2 separate regions of the Homo sapiens genome follow, and region 1 is linked to region 2. Evidence: promoter capture Hi-C in 16 types of primary human blood cells and fetal thymus (Javierre and others, 2016). All regions are on one chromosome and are shown on one strand. The core of a region is centred on a gene start or on the middle of the fragment in contact, and the rest is flanking DNA. Distances in the headings are between cores, read along the strand shown.

Region 1 (7,535 bases), core at 1,223-3,722, 150 kb before region 2:
GAAAAAAAAAATTTGAGGCCAGGCACAGTGGCTCACGCCTGTAATCCCAGCACTTTAGGAGGCCGAGGCAGGCAGATCACCTGAGGTTGGGAGTTCGAGACCAGCCTGGCCAACATGGAGAAACTCCGTCTCTACTAAAAATACAAAATTAGCTGGGCATGGTGGCATATGCCTGCAATCCCAGCTACTTGGGAGGCTGAAGCGGGAGAATCACTTGAACCCTGGAGGCAGAGGTTGCAGTGAGCTGAGATCGCGCCATTGCACTCCAGTCTGGGCAACAAGAGCAAAACTCTGTCTCAAAAAAAAAAAAAAATTTGTACATACAGGGTGTTACTGTCACATAGTGCTGGGATTTAGGCATGAGTCACCTGCCTGACCAGCAAGTTCTTAAATTCTGCAGCAAGTTCTTAAGACAATGGCTGTAGCATAGATAACCCTTCATAAAAACGCTAATCACGATGCTGGGACGGTGGCTCACGCCTGTAATCCCAGCACTTTGGGAGGCCGAGGTGGGCAGATCATGAGATCAGGAGATCGAGACCATCCTGGCTAACACGGTGAAACCCCGACTCTACTAAAAATACAAAAAAATTAGCCGGGCATGGTGGTGGGCGCCTGTAGTCCCAGCTACTCGGGAGGCTGAGGCAGGAGAATGGCGTGAATCTGGGAGGCAGAGCTTGTAGTGAGCTAAGATCACGCCACTGCACTCTAGCCTGAGCAACAGAGCGAGACTCTGTCTCAAAAAAAAAAAAACGCTAATCACGGCCGGGGCGTTGTCTCTCACACCTGTAATCCCAGCACTTTGGTAGGCTGAGGCAGGTGGATCCTGAGGTCAAGAGATCGAGACCATCCTGGCCAACATGATGAAACCCCGTCTCCACTAAAAATACAAAATTAGCCAGGCATGGTTGTGGGCACCTGTAATCCCAGCTACTCGGGAGGCTGAGGCAGGAGAATCGCTTGAACCCGGGAGGCAGAGGTTGCAGTGAGCCGAGATTGTGTCACTGCACTCCAGCCTGGTGACAGAGTGAGATTCCATCTCAAAAAAAAAAAAAAAATGCTAATCTGGACTCCCCAGTGGTCAAGAGCTTCAGAATATCTGAGGCATGACCAGCTGCACATGTCTTTACCCTAAAAGCTTGCTATAAAAATAATGTTTTCTGGAAGGTAGGTGCAGGGGTGCACCATCTTGCAATTGCTTGACGGTGTCGCTATGGATAGATCTCAAAAGCACTTTATTGAGTAAATGAATTTGCAACTTCTGTTTGCAAGTCCCTATTTTCTTTCTGATAAACTGCACTTGTCAGCCTCTTTCTTTGGCCTCTCAGCTCCCTCGGTCTTTGGTGGTGGTTTGCATAGGCCTGCTCACCGCAGGACAATGATACACAAGCACAAACTCAGAATGTGCACCCAGGCACCCCCGTGTACAGACCCCTCCCGTGTACAGCACTGGTGCACACACATCCATGATGCACACACACATTCCAGAGCACCCATCCCGTCCCCCCTTCCCAGTACAACAAACATACATCTGTCACTGCTTCTTACTCTGGCCTTTGGCTTGGGCCTGACAAAGCCTAGGGCATTAGGCCGGGCACAGTGGCTCACACCTGTCATCCCAGCACTTTGGGAGGCTGAGATGGGTGGATCACTTTTGAGACCTGCCTAGCCAATATGGTGAAACCCCATCTCTGCTAAAAAATACAAAAATTAGCCAGGCATGGTGGCACACACCTGTAGTCCCAGCTACTGGGGAGGCTGAAGCAGGAGAATCACTTGAACCCGGGAGGCGGAGGTTGCAGTGAGCCAAGATGGAGCCACTGCACTCCAGCCTGAGCAACAGAGTGAGATTGGTCTCAAAAAAAAAACCAAACAACAACAAACAAAAGGGTAGGGCACTAAACATTTATGACAAGGACTGCACTCTTAGAAACTCCTAGAATGGAACTGCTGGCAGAAGTTGCAGTGCACCAGGAGTTTGTGGGGAGCCAGGGCAGCACCTTCCTAGGGTCACACTTGGACTCTCCAGCCTAGGATGCAACATCCCAAGTTACCAGCAAGGGGCGCCCGAGAGCCATGATTGCCTCCAGGTGTTTTCTAGGAAGTTGCTAGGTGTGAGGGTGTGTTTGTCTCTGGGTGCGTCTGAGGGACAGGGCAGATCTCAGAGCCTCCTCTTAGGGGTTGAGTTGAGTGTGGTGGACGCACTCACCACCAATTCTGGGGACTGCCTCACTCAGGTTCCAATGCCCTGGCACAGAGCTGGTGCTCAGTTTGTGTTAGATGAGTGGATGAATTAACAAGTGAATGAATGGATGACTGGGGAATGAGGAGATAGGACAGAACTCAAGAGAAAGAAGGTAAAAAGAGAAGGATGGACCCCAGAGATCAGAGGGGAGCTGGAAGAAAGAGAAATGCAGGGAATGGCAGGGAGGAGTCAAGGGGTCGATGAGTGATTTGGGGGCAGGGGCTCAGTCGGCCAGCCTCCAAGCCTTGGCCCAAATGTCTCCCTCCCAGATGCCTCCCACTGCTGCCCTCTTCAATATTCATCTTTCTAGGCTGGTTGGGACTGTCACCTCCCCCAGGAAGCCCTCCCTGAGCACCTCTCCGTTGGGACCCGTCCTTCCTGCCTTTGTGCTTCCACAGCTCTGCGGCATCGTACCAGGGACCCTCTGCTCTGGTTGAAATGTGGGAAGTTGTATCAGACAGACGTAGATTTGGTTTGAATTCCTGTTCAACCATAATTGTGTGATCTTTTTCAAGACACCTAACCTCTCTCTGTGTTTTTTTTTTTTTTTTTTTTTTTTGAGACGGAGTCTCGCTCTGTCACCCAGGCTGTAGTGCAGTGGCACAATCTCAGTTCACTGCAACCTCTGCCTCCCAGGTTCAAGCGATTCTCCTGCCTCAGCCTCCCAAGTAGCTGAGATTACAGATATGCACCACCATGCCCAGCTAATTTTTGTATTTTTATTAGAGATGGGGGTGTCACCATGTTGGCCAGGCTGGTCTCGAACTCCTGGCCTCAAGTGATCCACCTACCTCAGTCTCCCAAAGTGCTGGGATTACACGTGTGAGCCACTGCACCCAGACTGAGACGCTTAACCTCTCTGTGCCTCAGTTTCTTCACCTAGGGTAACACCAATAGCTCCCTCACAAGGTTTCTGTGAGAATTCAAGGAGATAAAGCACTGAACACTGGGCTTGGCCCATAGGAAACACTGAACACAGGGCAGCAATGATTGCTTTCCTGTCCCAGAGAGTCCCAATCTTAAGTGCTCCGTCCCATTGTCAAGTCGTTTGCTGTAGTTTGGGCTCATAACATATTGTCATCAGAGCCTGTAGTGAATACCCCGGCTCAATGAATATGTGCTCCCTGATAACACTCATCTGTAATTCATTTTTTTTTGACATGTATGAGAATATTCATTTCAGTGTTGCTTGAAATAATGAAACATAATTGGAAACAACTTAAAAGTATGCATATTGACAGGAGAATGGATGAATTGGGTATATATAGAATGCAATGTTAAGCAGTGAAAATGATTAAATTAGAGTCATATGTGTCGCTATGGATAGATCTCAGAAGCATTTTATTGAGTAAAAAAGCAAATTACAGAATAATGCATTCAGTATAATGTCATAGTATGTAAAACATTTGAATCCATGCAGACCAATGCTATGCCATATACAGCAATGTGTAGGAATAGAATAAATACACGTAGCAAAGATAATCAGAGATTAGATGGTGCCACCCTCCAAGAAGAAGGGGTGTGAAGTTGGCCAGGGCTTCAGCTGTATCTGGAAGCTTAACTTGTTTTGAGTTCCTTGAATATGGTAAAGGAAGAGAATTCATGTGAGACCTTCTCTATTTTAATCCCTAAGCGTGAAATAGGATGAAGCAACTGAGGCTCAGGGAGGCGTGGCAAAGTGCCCATGCTTTCCCAGACACTGAGAAGTAGAGGTGGGAACTGAACCCAGAGCTCCTGACCCCAGCACCTTCCCTGCCAGGGCAGGCTGCTTGGAACTGCTGGTGGTGGTTTCAGAGGCAAAGACTGTCCCCAAGTTGCTACAGCAGAGCAGCTCTGCCAGGCTGAGCAAGAAGGGTGGGCTTTTTGGTCCACTGGGTCCAGGCAGGGCTCAGCCCATGCCCGGTAGGAGCTTGGGTCCAGGCCAAGCCCAAGGAAGGTTTCCGGCCTTAAGGTCTGTTTCCTGGCACTCTCCTGGTGGAGTCAGAGGTCAGGGCTGGAGCCAGGCTTGGGCAGGGTCTCCACTGCAGGAAGTGGAGGCCTCTGAGCCTCTGAGCCTCCAATCCAGTTACCCTTTACTCCTGCCACCTCCCTCACCTCTCAGGGCATCCAGGGGCACAGGCAGGAGGAGGTGCATGAGTGGGCACCAGTCTCAAGGAGATCCAAGGCTTCCTGTTCCTGTCCAGGAACCCCAAACCCTTCAGGGGCAGAGGTGTTCTGAGACACAGGCTGGCAATCATTCATCTGTCCTCTCCTCCTTCCATGAACCCACAAAGTGCCAGGGCCTGTACCAGGCTCTGGGGAGACAGCCCCTACCCTCTAGGGCCTCAGTGGCTGGTGGGAGGAGATTTGATATGTAAATAAACAGACATCTAGTAGATAACACTTGTGTGGATTGAAGTCAATGAAAATTATCTAATTAAGTATGAGCTCTGGAAAGGCCAGTAGAGACTGGCTAGTGTGGCCCAGAGAAAGGCTGGGACTTGTCAATGTCATAGAGTGGTTCAACGGCATAGCACTGACAATAGAACCCAGGACTCCAGACGCAAGCCAGGGCTCTTTCTGCTGCATCCTACCCCTGCATTTTCTATTCAAGTGTATCACTGTGAAAAAATTCAAGTGAACAGAAAAATTTATTTTGTTTTGTTTTGTTTTTTTTATTTGAGATGGAGTCTTGCTCTGTCGCCCAGGCTGGAGTGCAGTGGCGCGATCTCGGCTCACTCACTGCAAGCTCCGCCTCCTGGGTTCACGCCATTCTCCTGCCTCAGCCTCCCAATAGCTGAGACTACAGGCGCCCGCCACCACGCCCGGCTAATTTTTTGTATTTTTAGTAGAGACGAGGTTTCACCATGTTAGCCAGGATGGTCTCAATCTCCTGACCTTGTGATCCGCCCACCTTGGCCTCCCAAAGTGCTGGGATTACAGGCGTGAGCCACCACGTCCGGCCGTGAACAGAAAAATTTAAACAGAACCGTGCCTCTTGGGAAGCCACCAGCAGGCTTTGTCACATCCTCTCAGTGATCATGGCTGGTGCCTTCCCACTCTGAACAAGATGCTCTCCTTGTTTCCTGGGACACATTTCATTTTGCGGGTAGGAACTTCTTTCATTAATTTTATTACTATTATTTTTTTTTTCTCACCCAGGCTGGAGTGCAGTGGTGCGATCTCAGCTCACTGCAGCCTCTGTCTCCCGGGTTCAAGTGATTCTCCTGTCTCAGTCTCCCAAGAAGCTGTGACTACAGGCACGCACAACCACACCCAGCTAATTTCGTATTTTTAGTAGAGACGGGGTTTCTCCATGTTGGCCAGGCTGGTCTCGAATTCCTGACCTCAGGCGATCCGCCTGCCTTGGCCTCCCAAAGTGCTGGGATTACAGGCGTGAGCAACCACGGCTGGTCTTCTTTCATCAATTTTAATTTTAATTTTAATTTTTGTAAAGTACTGTTTTTTGTTTGTTTGTTTAAGACAGAGTCTCACTCTGTCACCCAGGCTGGAGTGCAGTTGTGCAATCTTGGCTCATTGCAACCTCTGCCTCCCAGGTTCAAGTGATTCTCATGCCTCAGCCTCCTGAGTAGCTGCAATTACTTGCGGGCACCACCACACCCCGCTAATTTTTGTAATTTTTAGTAGAGACAGGGTTTCGCCATGTTGGCCAAGCTGGTCTCAAACTCCTGACCTCAAGTGATCTGCCCACCACAGCCTCCCAAAGTGCTGGGATTACAGGCCTGAGCCACTGTGCCCAGCCTAAAAGAATTGCTTTTTTAAAAAAATTTTTGTGGAGACAAGGTCTCGCTCTGTTGCTCAGGCTGGAGTGCCGTGGTGCAATCATGGCTCACTTGCAGCTTTGAACCCCTGGGCTCAAGCGATCCTCCTGCCTCAGTCTCCCAGGGGAAATGGTTTTACCTCACAATGTTATTGAAAGGCAGTGCTTGTCTAAAGCATCCTCCCGCCTTGGCCTCCCAAAGTGCTAGGATTACAGGCAATGGCCACTGCATCCAGCCTCAGCCTCCCGAAGTGCTGGGATTACAGGCATGGGCCACCGCATCCTGCCATGGCCTCCTGAAATGCTGGGATTACAGGCATGGGCCACCGCATCCTGCCATGGCCTCCTGAAATGCTGGGATTACAGGCATGGGCCACCGTGCCCGGCCTAGAGCTTCTTTAAGTGGAGGCTGGGAGGTGTTTTCTGACACCAACCACTTTTTCATCTATTTGACATCAACTGGGTATGCAACAATTCAATTCATTTCTGACACTGTCTACCTGACTTTAGCATCAGATCCCACAATTTAAAGGGCTCGGGGCTCAGCCCCACAAGACTGTCCCCCTTCAGACACCAGTTGAAAGTCCTGGGGCCACCTCACCCCCATAATTCTGACCAACCAGCTATAAATTGGAGACTCCCACAACTCCCTCCTCAGGTTTAATAATTTGCTATTAATAGAACAGCTCACAGAACCTAGGAAGGTGATTTACTTACATCTACTGGTTTGTGATAAAGAATACAAATAGCCAGGCACAGTGGCTCATGCCTGTAATCCCAGCACTTTGGGAGGCCGAGGTGGGAGGATCACTTGAGTCCAGGAGTTCAAGACCAGCCTGGGCAACATAGTGAGACCCCATCTCTACAAAAAAGAAACAAAATTAGTCGGGTGTGGTGGTGTCCACCTGCAGTCCCAGCTACTCTGAAGGCTAAGGGGGGATAGGGTGACTTCAGCCTGGGAGTTTGAGGCTGCAGTGAGCTATGATCATGCCACTGTACTCCAACCTGGGCAACAGAGCAAGACCTTGTCTCAAAACAAACAAGCAAACAAAGAAACAAAAAGGGTACAATGAACAGCCAGCTGAAGAGGTCAGGAAGGGTCCCGAGACTGGAGGATGCCATTACTGAGACCAATAGGACTGGAACAGGCTTTAGAGACCATTTGGTCCCCTATTTGGTCCCCCAAACTCCTCCTTTTCCAGTTGGGCAAACTGAGGCCCAGCTCATTCAGCAAATTAATAACAGAGCCGGGTCTAGAACCCAATTTTCTCAACTGTCAAATAATGGTGGCAACAGCTAGTATTGATTGAGAGCCTACTACATTAGGGATAAACCTGGTGGAGCAGATATTATCTCAGGTGAGGAATTTGAGTCTCAGAAAAGAGAAATAACTTACCCAAGGTAACCCAGCTGGTACAACTGGTACAAAGAAGAACCTCACTGCCAAATTCCTCTCTTGGGAAAATGACTCTTTTTTGTTTGTTTGTTTTTGAGACAGAGTCTTGCTCTGTCACCCAGGCTAGAGACAGA
Region 2 (6,935 bases), core at 4,059-6,558:
GTCCAGGAGTTCGAGACTAGCCCTTGCAATACAGTGAGACCTCATCTCTACAGAAAACACAAAAATTAGCTGGGCATGGTGGTGCATGTGTGGTCCCAGCTACTCTGGGGGCTGAGGTGGGAGGATCACCTGAGCCCAGGAAGCAGAGGTTGCAGTGAGCCGAGATGGCGCCACTGCACTCCAGCCTGGATAACAGAATGAGAACCTATCTCAAAACAATAAATAAGTAAGTTCATTTGAAAAAAAGAAAAAGAAAAAGAAGGCTCCCCCAGGCTTCCTTCTTCCTGTGTTGTCAGAGGCAAAGGACAGAAGGAGGGAGACCAGTTCAGAAGTTATTAGAACAACCCAGACGAGAGCTGGTGGTGGCTCAGACCAGGTGATGGCAGAGCAGGTGTGAGAAGGGTCAGAGTCTGGAGAGCTTTCAAAGGACTTGTCACTGGCTTGGTTATGGGTTATAGGCTATGGGTTAAGCGGGGAGTAAAAGATGACTCAGTGAGGCCTGGGCAGCTGGAATGTGAAGTCGCTGCTCAGCGAGAGGGAAGCAGGATGCAGGGAGGGCTGTGGACAAGGAGTCCAGTATGGGGCAAGTTAAGTTTGAGATTTCGCCTATACATCCACGCAGAGATGCTGAGCAGGGAGGAGGTTATGTGGCTGAAGTTCAAAGACAAGTCCCACAGGTGATACGATATAAATGAGACCCACAAGGGAATGAGCCTGGATGGAGGACAAGGGGACATAGGACCTGGGTCTCATGGCACAAAGCATACAGCATCAGGGAAATGACCAGGAACCTGCAAAAAAGGCTGAGCGGGGGATGGGGAAGGTAAGTGTGTGGGGTTCTGGGAAACTGCATTTCACCCCTGTTCAACTGTACATGGCAGCCCTACCTCCATCCCACTCCTAATTGGGTGTGGTGGGCAGGTGGGACATCTTTAGATCCCCAGGAAGGTTATTCCTGGGTGATTTGTTCTGGTCCCTTCCACCAACCCTAGCCCTCCTATCCCACTCCCCTGTCTACAGAGATCATTCCTGCTCATTTTACTCACTGGCTTTATGACCTTGGGCAAGTCACTTCTCTCTAGGCCTCAGTTTCCTGATCTGTAAAGTGTGGGAATCAGACTGGATTGATGGTTTTCAAAGTATGTCTTGAGGGTGACACTCAGGGCCCTCAGAGAGACATCAGGCAGCCAGGGCCCCAGGCCCACCATCCAGTTAAGCAGAGGATATCTCCTTTGAATGTCTTGGGCCTCCATGCCAGGTCCCATTTAGCAAAAGTTTCCACCACTAAAGCATCATTTGGAATCCGCCGGATGAGATCATCTGCAGCATAGTTCTGGCCCTGACTGCTCTGCCCCTCCAGCCCTTGGCCTAAGCCGATTCCACACTTCCGCTTTCCTCTCTCCTGCCTCCCCATCGGGGCCCTGCCCTAGGGAAGGGGAGTTAGGGCCAGGCTTCCCTCCAGCTGTTCAGTAGGGCCCAGTCCACACCCCGCACTGACCTCTGCAGTCAGCTGGTGACCAGGAGCCCTGGTCACTGCCATCGCCACAGTTGTCCATGCCCCAGGGGTCACACACGAGGCTTGAGGGGATGCACCTGCCATTCTGGCAGCGGAAGTAGGCACCACAAGGTCCTGAGGCCAGAAGCAGAAGCCTGAGGTGAGGATTCCGGTCCAGCCCACGACACAGCAGGATGTGTGGCCCCCATGGTGACAGTGTGGGGGTGTGGGCAGGAGAGAGCTGCCCTCATGCATGCAGATGAGAACATGGATGAGTGTTTCATGGGGAGGAGGGTGGAGGATGGCAGCTAACATGTACTGACTTCCTCTTCTGTGCCATGCACAGCCGTAAATACTACACATCCTGGCCCATTGAGGCCTCACAATACCCCTATGGGGCAAGTACTGTTATTAATTTTATTATTTTTTAATTATTATATTTTTTAAATTATTTTTTGTTGTTGTTTTAGGCAGGTCTCTCTCTGTCACCCAGGCTGGTCTTGAATTCCTGAGCTCAAGTGATCCTCATGACTTGGCCTCCCAAAGTGCTGGGATTACAGGCGAAAGCCACGGCGCCCAGTTGGGCGAGTATTATTAATTTCAGTTCCAAGAGGGCCCTTTCCTGGCTTGAGTTGGTTTCTGCTGCCTACAGGCCTGGCGAGTCCTAAGCACACCCTTCTGCAAACATCTGAAGGGCTGACCCAGCGCAGAGCAGCCAGCATGTGGCATGAGAGCATGTGAGCTGTGTGTAAGTGTGCAAGGCGGTACTGTGTGCATATGAGGTGTGTGATGGTGAGTGTGCAGTGTGAGGCGTGTGCTGCAGTGAGAGGCATGAGTGTGGAGTGTGTGGGGGCGATGAGGTGCGTGGGTTGTGCGTATGTGACATGGGTGTGGATGTCAGAGTGTGAGGTGTGAACGTGTGGGAGTTGTGTGTGAATGTGTGTGGGGAGGAAGTTGTGTGTGGATGTGTGTGGATGTGTGTGCGCACTGGGGCTGGTAGGACAGTCTGACGCACACATCCATGGTAGCCAGATTTATATGGTTGGCTCTTAGGATCCGGGAGGTCCCTTATTGTGACTCTGCCACTAGCCACCACCTTCTTCCCTCCCGTTGGACCCAGTCCCTGCCATCTTGTGCTTCGGGCACCCCTGCCATTCCCCTGTCGGCAGCGGCCCTCACCGGGGCCCCCACTGTGGCCCCAGTCCCGCATGGCCTCTGCAGAGGGTCCCGTCCCGGCCTTCAGCCCCAGCTCACCCAGACGGAAAGAGGTGACTTCGCCCACGAAGTCCACGCGGGGCTGGCGGCCTCTCGTGACCAGGCGCAGGCCTAGAAAGGGTCCGGAGGATGCCACAGGCACCGGGATGTTCAGGCCGCACAGTGGGGACCCCAGGGGCCGGGGCGCCCCCGGCGGGCCCTCGTAGAACTGCAGGTAGGAGCCGGGGGCGCACGGGTCGGCCGGGGCCGGGGAGGAGGTGTTGAGCGCCGGGGGCGCGGGGGTCAGGCTGTAGACCAGGAAGAAGCGGAACTGGAAGCGGATCCGGTCGCCGGGGGCTGCCGCCTGCACCCAGAGCCCGCAGTCGGTGTCCGGAGCCACGAAGTAGAACCTGCGCGATGCGGCGTGCGAGCGCAGCAGCAGCCCGTCCCCCTGCCACGTCTGCCCGCACAGTTCCGCCAGGTCGGCTGCAGCGGAAGGCACGGAAACTGGAGCCGCGCGGCGCGACCCCGAACTCTACTCTGTCCCCTGCCCGCTGTGTGATCCCAAGCGAGTTACTCGCCCTCTCTGAGCCTCATTTTCCTCATCGGTAAAATGGGGATGATTAATCAATCTCAGAATGATTGTAAGGATTAAATGATTTAATTTAATTTAATTCAAATCTACAATCCCTTATTCGAAACCCTAAGATGCGGGGCCGAGCGCAGTGGCTCACGCCTGTAATCCCAGCACTTTGGAGGCCAAGGCAGGTGGATCACCTGAGGTCAGGAGTTCGAGACCAGCCTGGCCAACATGGTGAAACCCCATCTCTACTAAAATACAAAAAATTAGCCGGGCATGGTGGTGCGCACCTGTAATCCCAACTAATCGAGAGGCTGAGGATGAGAATCGCGTGAACTCTGGAGGCGGAGGTTGCAGTGAGCTGAGATCAAGCCACTGCACTCCAGCCTGGGTAACACAGCGAGACTCCGTCACCAAAAAAAAAAAAGGGGAGGGGGAGAGCTGTGTGATAAGGAGCCCCTTTTCTTCCTGCTTTTGAAAGCTGCTGACTGAGGATGAGGATGGGATGTCCAGAGCTGCAGCAGCCATTTTGCAAAGATGAGGTCAGAGCATTTCAGAGGAACAGTGACATTGTTGAGCCGTTGAGTTAACCATCTCTGGAATCACCTATGACCACTCTTAACTGAAATAGCAAATATCCTACCATTTAAGCCCCATTTAGTTTGTTATCTGTTACTTACAGCCCAAAACATCCTCACTGGTACAGGGTTGTTGTGAGGATTAAATGAGAAGATGTGCAAGTACTCAAAGTAGCCCTGATTTCTGTAAGCACAGAGAGGAAAGAGGAGGTGGGTTTTCTGGTGCAAGATAGGGACCAGTGGGTACTTGAGGACCAGCCAGGATGTGGGTCTTTGAGGAAAAAATCCTTCATCAGAGCTCAGGATGTGGGAGCACTTTCCAATATTTGGTATTTCTCTGCTAAAGCCAGAGCCTACCCTGAAGGTACACAGGGCAGGCATGGAGTTTAGAGAGTAAGGGAATTGGGCACCCTTTTTTTTTTTTATTTCTTTGAGACGGAGTCTCTCTCTGTTGCCAGGCTGGAGTGCAGTGGCGCAATCTCGGCTCACTGCAGCCTCCGACTCCCTGGTTCAAGCGATTCTCCTGCCTCAGCCTCCCAAGTAGCTGGGATTACAGGCACATGCCACCATGCCCAGCTAATTTTTGTATTTTTAGTAGAGATGTGGTTTCACCATGTTGGCCAGGATGGTCTTGATCTCGTGACCTCATGATCCGCCCGCCTCGGCATCACAGAGTGCTGGGATTACAGGCGTGAGCCACTGCGCCCAGCCGGGAATTTGGCACCTTTTATGTGCCAGGTATTATGAAGTGCCTTGCATGACTTATCTCATCTTATATGCCAATAATCATAGTCCCTTAAGGGGCAAGGGCCTATTATTTTCATTTTACTGCCAAAGAAATTCAGAGAGTTGAAACAATGATCTCAAAGGTACAAACATAAGAAGTGGCAGAGTGTGTAAATGCAGCTTCTCTGAATCCGAAGCCTACAGAGTTTTGCAAAGCAGGCCCTGAGGGCTGTCCTGCCCACTCCCAGACTCCTGCTTCTAGGTGACTGGCAGATCCAAGCCTTCCAGAAGGCTTTGGGTTGGATTTGGGGATGCCAAGCAAGACCAGACACAGTTTCCCAGCCTCCCCCAGCTCAAAAGGTCTCAGCCCAGCAGGATGAGTGCTGACTGGGGAAACATAGTCTCTAAGGATGGTGGGGGCCCAAGTCTTCTGGGTGCCCCAACCAAGCCCCCTGATACTTACCTGTCTCCAAAGCAGTTGCAGTCAGGGCGGCTGCCCCCAGCAAGAGCAACCTTTGGGGCAACTGCAGAAGACAACAAGCCTCCATCCAGGCTCTGCTGTGCCCAGCAATGGGGCAGACCCACAGAATCTTCAGCTTGGGGTCTCTGGGGAGACTGGAGTATGGGGCCTGGTCAGGCCAGCAGGGAGGCTGGTGGGACACAAGGAGAAGGGGGAGGCAAGTCTTCACTATGATCTTAGTGCTTTGCCTTCCAGATCCTCTTCATTTGGTTCAGAACTGTGTCCAGGGGTTGCCATGGAGATTTGGAGCAAGGGCTAGAGCCTGGGGAGAGGAGGCAGGGAGGAGATCTGCTCCCCTTCTGCCAGACAGGAACCAGGAAACTCAGATCCGGTTCAGCCATAGGGCTTCTGGGAGGAGGACCCACAGGAAGCCAGATCTGCTACCTTCCTAGATCAGCTGGCCCCTTAGGGACTGAGCTTGAGGGAGGTCCAGGACACCAAAGGAGCCTCTCTGAGGGCCTAGAGAGCAGCAGGCAGAGAAGGAGCACTGGACCAGGAGTCTGCTGTATTACTAACAAGCCATTCCTGCCTCAGGGCCTTTGCACTCATAGATCCCTCTGTCTGGAGTGTTGTCCCCCCATAGCAGTGCACGGCTGACTTCTTCAGGTCATCAGGTTGTGGCTCACATGTTACCTCCACAGACCACACTCTCCTGACCACCTCTCCAACTAAATTAACACTCTCTCTCTTTGTCACTCAATCACATCTCAAATGTATCATCCCAGCACTGTCTGGAATTATTTTGCCTATTCATTTCTTCTTGTATATATTGTCCACTGGCCTCCACTAAAATTATATTCCATGAGTATCTTGTTTACCTCTGAACCCTTATGTCATAGCACAGTCACTGGCACAAGGCAGGCGCCCAGGAAATAATGAAAGAATAAGTGTGTGGCATTGAACAAATGACCCCTTTTTCTGGATTTTACTTTCCCATGTGTAAAATAAATACCCTGGACTAATTCAGACTTTTTCAAAACGTGTTATTAGTAGAACAATTTTTTTTCAAAAGGTATGTTACAAGGAACCTTTATCTATAAAACTGAAGCTTTTCAAGCCCTGGCATCCTTCTCTGGAAAATGGGATAATGATTAATTCCAACCACATAGTTGCATTGTAAGAATTAAGTAACTTGGCCTGGCTTGGTGGCTCATGCCTGTAATCCCAGCACTTTGGGAGGCAGAGGTGGGTGGATCACAAGGTCAGGAGTTCAAGGCCAGCCTGGCCAACATAGTGAAACCCCATCTCTACTAAAAATACAAAAAAAATTAGCCGGGCATGGTGGTGCATTCCTGTAGTCCCAGCTACTCAGGAGGCTGAGGCAGGAGAATCGCTTGAATCCGGGAGGTGGAGGTTGCAGTGAGCTGAGATTGTGCCACTGCACTCCAGCTTGAGCAACAGAGTGAGACTTCATCTCAAAAAAAAAAAAAAAAAAAGAATTAAGTAACTTAATACAAGTGGGGTACTTGGAATAGTGTCTATCATGTAGTAAAGTAACCAATGTATTTCAGCTTGAATGATGATCATTAATGTCATCGTTATTATTTAAGCAGATGTTTCAAGTGTGGGGGAGGGGAGGAGCTAAGCAGCCCAAATTGGCAGTGCCTGAGACACCACCTCAAAATCCCAGGAATCCATGAGAAGGTTAAGACCTCTGGACCTGGCCGGGCACAGTGGCTCACACCTGTAATCCCATCACGTTGGGAGGCCAAGGCAGGCGATCACCTGAGGTTGGGAATTCGAGAGCAGCCTGGCCAGCATGGTGAAACCCCATCTCTACTATAAATACAAATATTAGCCGGGCGTTGTGGCACAGAGGCTGAGGCACAATAATCGCTTGAA

The links. Contacts are between HindIII fragments. The CHiCAGO score rates a contact against its expected background, and 5 or more counts as called.
Region 1: a contact is called between a fragment that was not itself captured here and the fragment with the promoter of LDLRAD2 in region 2, in 1 of 17 cell types (erythroblasts). The highest score is 5.9, in erythroblasts.

Annotation. Positions count from the first base shown.
Region 1 is chr1:21,958,686-21,966,220 of GRCh38, reverse strand. No RefSeq gene overlaps it. Among named protein-coding and RNA genes, the nearest start is that of CELA3B, 15 kb to the left of the region's middle. RefSeq lists a silencer at 1,910-2,177 and an enhancer at 3,662-4,325. The HindIII fragment of the contact is 2,663 bases long and covers 1,141-3,803 here.
Region 2 is chr1:21,810,638-21,817,572 of GRCh38, reverse strand. LDLRAD2 (low density lipoprotein receptor class A domain containing 2) reads right to left here and starts at 5,308. Exons shown (of 5, transcript NM_001013693.3): 1 at 5,037-5,308; 2 at 2,750-3,175; 3 at 1,499-1,630. The coding sequence starts at 5,121. RefSeq lists silencers at 2,824-2,943, 6,672-6,822 and an enhancer at 5,223-5,517. The HindIII fragment of the contact is 31,080 bases long and covers 1-6,143 here.